2 separate regions of the Homo sapiens genome follow, and region 2 is linked to region 1. The links are contacts of gene promoters, found by promoter capture Hi-C in human tissues and cell types (Jung and others, 2019). All regions are on one chromosome and are shown on one strand. The core of a region is centred on a gene start or on the middle of the fragment in contact, and the rest is flanking DNA. Distances in the headings are between cores, read along the strand shown. Region 1 has its middle 32 kb from the start of CPHXL. Region 2 holds the start of BCAR1 (BCAR1 scaffold protein, Cas family member).

What was found. Contacts are between HindIII fragments. The study calls those that stand out against the background at their distance.
Region 2: the fragment with the promoter of BCAR1 here is called in contact with a fragment that was not itself captured in region 1 in 1 of the 25 tissues and cell types used here (lymphoblastoid cells).

Annotation. Positions count from the first base shown.
Region 1 is chr16:75,756,940-75,760,032 of GRCh38, reverse strand. No RefSeq gene overlaps it. Among named protein-coding and RNA genes, the nearest start is that of CPHXL, 32 kb to the right of the region's middle. RefSeq lists an enhancer at 1,720-1,769. The HindIII fragment of the contact is 7,555 bases long and covers 1-3,093 here.
Region 2 is chr16:75,250,148-75,253,240 of GRCh38, reverse strand. BCAR1 (BCAR1 scaffold protein, Cas family member) reads left to right here and starts at 1,617. Exons shown (of 7, transcript NM_014567.5): 1 at 1,617-1,770. The coding sequence starts at 1,759. RefSeq lists enhancers at 1-324, 865-1,405 and silencers at 1,405-1,514, 1,575-1,734. The HindIII fragment of the contact is 33,708 bases long and covers 1-3,093 here.

The DNA.
Region 1 (3,093 bases), core at 257-2,756:
AAATGCTTTCAGAAAAATTTGAAAGAATCACAGGTTATTATCAAAGCAGCTTATTTCCCATGACAGAAAATCCCATGACAATGAGTTGAGAGCTCTGTTGGCTAAGACACATCTTTGTATCTTAAGAAAAGGAAATGCGGGCCAGACACTGTGGCTCACGCCTGTAATCCCAGCACTTTGGGAGGCCGAGGTGGGTGGATCGCAAGGTCAGGAGTTCAAGACCAGCCTGGCCAGCATGGTGAAACCCCTTCTCTACTAAAAATACAAAAATAAAAATAAAAAACTAGCCAGGCATGGTGGCACATGCCTGTAGTTCCAGCTTCTTGGGAGGCTGAGGCAGGAGAATTGTTTGAACCTGGCAGGCAGAGGTTGTAGTGAGCCGAGATTGTGCCACTGCACTCCAGCCTGGGTGACAGAGCGAGACTCCACCTCAAAAAAAAAAAAAAAAAAAAAAAAAAGAAAAGAAAAGAAAAGGAAATGCAACTTGTTGACTAGGTAGTGTGAAGATAAAATAAAAAAGAAAACGCATATCTGACACCAAAAAAAAATGAAGAAAATGTAAGGTTTTCAAAAATATACTTATGTCCCTGGTGTTGCAAATGGGGTATTTGGCAGAAGGACCACCAGGGCATCCTCCGGATGTCCACATCCCCAAAGAAAGAGGAGCACCTTCTACCATAAAAAAGAATAAGATCCCATCATTTGCAACAATATGGATGGAACCAGAGGTCGTCATGGTAAGTGAAATAAGCCAGGCACAGAAAGACAAACATTGCATGTTCTCACTTAATGTGGAATCTAAAAATCAAAATAATTGAACTCATGGACACAGAAAGTAGAAAGATGGTTACCAGAAGCTGCGAAGCTAGTGGGGAGTTGAGGGGAGGTGGCGAAGGTTAATGGTTACAAAAAAAATAGAATTAATAAGGCTTACTTTTGATTGGGTGACTATACTAAATAACAACTTAATTGTACATTTTAAAGTAAAGAGTGCAATTATATTGTTTATAACTCAAAAGATAAATGCTTGAGGGGATGGATACCCCATTCTCCATGATGTGCTTATTTCACATTGCATGTTTTTATCAAAACATCTCATGTATCCCATAAATTTATACAACTATTATGTACTCACAAAAAAATTTATAAAATAAATTAAAAATTAAAAAGTATTTTAAAGAGGAACACCAAGCTGTGACTCATGGGAGACCCAGCATTCCTCCCAAGGTCAGGATCCCAGGAGAAAGAGGCCTCCCTCAGGTCAACTCCACCCTGACTCAACAGATCCTTCACAAGGTCCACAAAGAGCATGACCTGATGCTCCTGGTGCTGGCTGCCACAGCTCAGGACCTTCCTTCTATTCAACATGACCACTAGACCACAGTTCCACTGGTCCAGGCCCTGGTCCTCCACCTCCTCCCCTTGTCAGACCTCAGATGTTTAGAGAGTCTTAAAGGGACAGGTCCTAAGAAAAGAAACCTCTGCTCTTCCCCTGTTCCAGAAATCCAGGACACAATTGCCTAGGAATCCTTTTCACCAGGGAGCTTCCCTGGCTGGACACATCCTCCCCATTCTCCTCTGGCCACAAGAAATGTTGGACACCAAGCACTGTCCACTCAGCCTGAAAACGAAAGTGAGTCACCCCTGGATAGATCCCACCTCCCACTGAGCATGCTACTACACAACCACAACCACAAGAGCCCTTTTCCTCTGCTCTACAATAATTTTCATATTTTCTATTTTAGTTTTATTGCCAGTGAGTGATTATATCATGTATAAGATGAAAAAAGACAGGATTCTGCTTCATAATGTGCTCTGCCTGTAGATTATTTCAATAACAACACTAATAAATTAATTACTTCCATTTTATTCTATTTGTAAGTAGCATAATTACAGTTTTATGTTGTTTTTAGCAAAGCCTCTAAAATAATTCAGGAAAACAGCAACTATTTTATTCCAACTTACTTTTTAAATAATTTTATTTGTTTCTCTATTGGTTTTATTGCCATAATTTAATGTATTAATAATTACACATCTCGAAAGAAGACCTGATAGGATTACAATGTTTAGGATTGCAGTTTTAAAATGTGCATGATGTAAATGCAAATTATATTTAACCCTGAGAGCACAAGCTTCCTTCTCACCCCAAACTCCCTTGGGGTGTCCACCGGGAAGCCACCTTAACCTTGACTCTGAAGGGTGTCTCAAGTGGGTTTACAGGTCAAAGCCAACACTCTTCAGTGAGGACCAGCCCCAGACAAAATTATGTGAACACTTTTCGAGGATCCCTGATTCTCTTCCCTGTTCTGTGTCCTCTCTGCCCCATCACAAGCCTGGACTGAGAGTTGGAAGGACCACAAAGGCTAAGTAATCAACCCTTTCCCTATCTCCTCCCTGAACTGTCTCACCTTTACGACTGTGAGGCCAATGTCAGCATTTAAAAACCATAAATAAGACCATGGGCCATGCTGCTCAAAGCCCTCCAGTGCCTACAACTTACACTGAGACTCAAATCTATGCTCTCCTGGCCCATGAGGTTGTCCATGCCCTGGTCCTTGCAGGTGTATACCTACCCAAGCACCTCCTGTGACTCCACTGACCACGATTTTGTCCAGTTAGCATGGCAGGCTCACTAAGTCTCAGAATTTTGCACTGGGCATTTCCTCTGCCGAGAATACCTTTACACCACATATGTGGTGGCTGCCTCCTTCATTTAGATACCAACTCTAATCACGTCTTCTTAAAGTGCCCTTTCCTGACCACTGTAGCTTAGTGATGGTGCTTCCTCATCCCTCTCTGATATGGTTAGGCTCTGTGATCCCACCCAAATCTCATCTTGAATCCCCCTTGTAATCCCCATAACCCCATGTGTTAAGAGAGAGACCAGGTGGAGGTCATTGATTCATGGGTGCAGTTTCCCCCATACTGTTCTCATGATAGTAAGTGAGTTCTCACGAGATCCGATGGTTTTATAAGTGGTAGTTCTTCCTGTATTCACTATCCCTCCTGCCACCTTGTGAAGAAGGTGCCTTGCTTCCCGTTCACCTTCCACCATGATTGTAAGCTTCCTGAGGCCTCCCCAGCCATGCAGAA
Region 2 (3,093 bases), core at 368-2,867, 510 kb after region 1:
CTGAGGAGTGGGTGGCTGGACAGGGTCAGGGTGCAGGAGGGGCCCGGCACAGCTCTTGGGAACAAGCAGGAGGAGATGCTCCAGGCAGCTTCCCTGAAGGCTGGCTCCTCTTCTGAGGCGAGGCGGGCTGTGTCGGGGAGGCACAGGGTGTTGGCTAGCTGTTCTGTTCCTCCTGAGGACTCTGGGTCATGCTCTGTCTCATCCCACTGCTCCTTCCTCACCCGCTGTGCTGTGAGTTCTGGCCAATGCTTCCCAAGCCAAATATTGAAGAAATGCAGACGTCCAGTTTTTTGGGAGGGGTGGGACACAGGAGTCTGTTTTTTAACTAGCTCCCCAGAGCACCTGAGCAGCAAATCATGGGCTGTCCTAGCCCCTTTTCAGATGAGAAAGGAGCCCAGAGAGGGGAGAGGGCCTGCCAAGGTGGCACATCTGGCCAGGCGCTGCGTAGGCTGAGCCCTGGGGGTCAGACAGAGGGGCAGCTGCAGGCCCACCTGGGCTTGTGTCTTCCATAGGCCATGCTTGAGAATTCTCTGCTGCGTGAAGCCGGGTCTACCCCGCTGCTTCCCTGCCACCAGGGCTGCCTCGTGGCATCCCATTGCTCAGCCAGTGGCCCAGGATTGTTGACTGAGGGTCCTGTCTGGTCTGGACCAGGCTCGGTCCTATCATCTCCCTGCAGATTGTGCCTCCCTGGCCTGGCCCAGGGGCTCTGGCACCCTGGTTCTGCTGCATGGGGTGACAGTCACTGACCTGCAACCGAGCAAGGGGCAACTCAGGAGAGCCAAGGTTGTCTCCACTCGGTTTCCCCCGAGTGATTCTTCCTTCTATCTCCCTCATTCCCCCAGTGCCGCTCTCCTACCCCATGTCGCTGAAGCAGATGAGTTGGAGCAGGACTCAGGAGGGTACTAGGCCCAGGTTTTAGGCTGAACCTAGGAATGAGTAATGAGAGGAGGCAGATCAGCTGGAGGACCAGCCCGAGTCCCCAGATGTCGGCACAATGCAGGGGAAGGTAGGTGCTGCCCGTGAAAAGCGCTGGGTCGAGAGCTCGCCAGCCTCCCTGCTTGAGGCTTCATTTCCTGGGGTCCTTACACGGTGGGACCGTCTACAGTCGGAGCTGTGGTGGTGATGATTCGTCTCCTACAGGCTGGGGCACGCCCCCTCCCCTTTCCCTCTAGATTCAGATTTGAGTCCCACGGCCCATGGACACGCGATGAATGCCCTGGGGTTGGTTAGCGGGAAAGACAAGTCGACTTGAGGCCATGTCTCGGCTCTGGAGGAAGAAGGCAAACCGGGCAGCCTTCCCAGAAGTGGAGGAGTTTGCGTAGGCCTTCGGTGCGTTCTCGCCTGGGTGGAAGGCGGGGACGTGCATTTGTTGGAGAGCGGTGTCCTGCGCCCTAGGCTGGAAGCCTGGCCTCGGGCAGGGGCCTGGAGCCTCGGGGTTGGAGGTGGGGGGCGGGGCGGGGGGCGGCCCCTACTGGGCGGGCTTCTGTCTGCGCGCCCGCGCCCCCGACAGGCGGCTTATTTGCATGGAGAGCGGCGGCGGCCAATGGGCGCGCGCGGCCGGGCATGCTGGGATCGGGCTGGGCCGGCTGGGCCGTGGCGGCAGGCGGAGAGCGGCTGGACCGGCTCTGGGTGGCCGAGGCGGCAGCTGCGCGGCGGCACCGGGGCGGCTGCGGCGCGCTCGGAGCCCCGAGGGCACGCGGCCCGGGCAGCTCGGTGTGCGCCCCCGCGAGAGCCGGGGCCCCAGGCCCGCCGGACACCATGAACCACCTGGTGAGGGCGCCAGGTGGGGCCGGGCCGCGTACGGGCTTGGAGGCGGCAGCGGGCTGGAAGGGGTTAAGCGAGCGGCATTTCCTGCCGGACCTGCGGGGCCTGGGAACCGCCGGCCGGGGTCCGCGGCCCTGGGATCTCCTTCTGCCCTGGCCGGGAAGCCGGGAGGCAGGAACCGCGGGGGCTCCGGAGCCTGTGCGCCTCGGGTGCGTTGGCGGGGCCGGGCGCGGGGGCCGCCAGCCGGTAGGAGGGTTCCTGTGTCGGGAAAGTGGCTGGCGGGGCCCGCGCTCCCCGGCCGACGGCCGCCTGCTGTGTCACCTTGGGCCTCTGCGCCCTGCCTCCGAGCCTCAGTTTCCTCGGCTGCGAGGAGGGGCCGTTGAGCCTCTGGCGGGTGGTCCGGCTGGTGTGGCGTGGGGACTGCCCACCGGCTCCCGGAGAGGGAGGAGCTCCGGGGGACCGAGGCCGGGCGGGCAAGTGCGTGGCGCCAGCGGGGAAGGCTGCGCAGCCGGAGCACCCGGCTCCAGTTAATGATTCACTCCGGCCGCCGGCGCGGGGTTCCGGGAGCGGAGCGGGAGTGGGGGCGGGCGCGCCGCGGGCTTTGCAGCCCCGCACGCCGAGCGCCGGTGGAAGCCGGGTCCTGGCCACAGGAGTCCTAGCCGCACGCGAGTGTCGCGGGAGGGGGCCAGGGCCGGGTTCTGCAGTGTGGACATGAAGGCTTTGGAGTCCATGGTTGGGGGACCCGCAAGAGCTAGAGCAGGGTCGGAGCTCCCTCTCGAGGGTCCGAGAGGCTGATCGCTGGACCGAGGTGAGGGAGTTGGGAAAGCGGAGATTTGCCTAGGGGTGCGGGGTGAGGGGCTTACGGCCTGGAAGATGTTGGGGTTTCGAGTTCCAGATCGGGGACAGCAGCTCCTTTTCTACCACAAGGCTCCCGTTCCCTCCTGAGAGTCCCTGGTTTCCTTTCCCACACCCCTCCCGGGGCCCGCCGCAGCTTTGGTCACCTTCTCAGAATGACCATGGGTTGATCTCTTCTTTGCTAGTGAGATGTTTCCCATCGCCCTGGGCCGGGACACGCCCCCTCTTGTGCCCATTCCTTTCCCTCGGTGGAGAGTTGGGTGGTGGGGGCTGGCCGGCCTGTGAGAGCAGGTGTCGGGGTGCCTGGAGAATCGGGGCCCAGGTACGGGGGTGGCGGGGCTGTGGGGAAAAGAGCTTTGGGGAGGAGCTGCTGACACTTCCTCCTGGCACTGCTTGCCCGGGAGCTGGGTGGAGGCAGGGCAGGGCAGGGCAGTCCCAGGTTCTGCCAGGAAAGTCACCTTGGGCTGGGGCAGG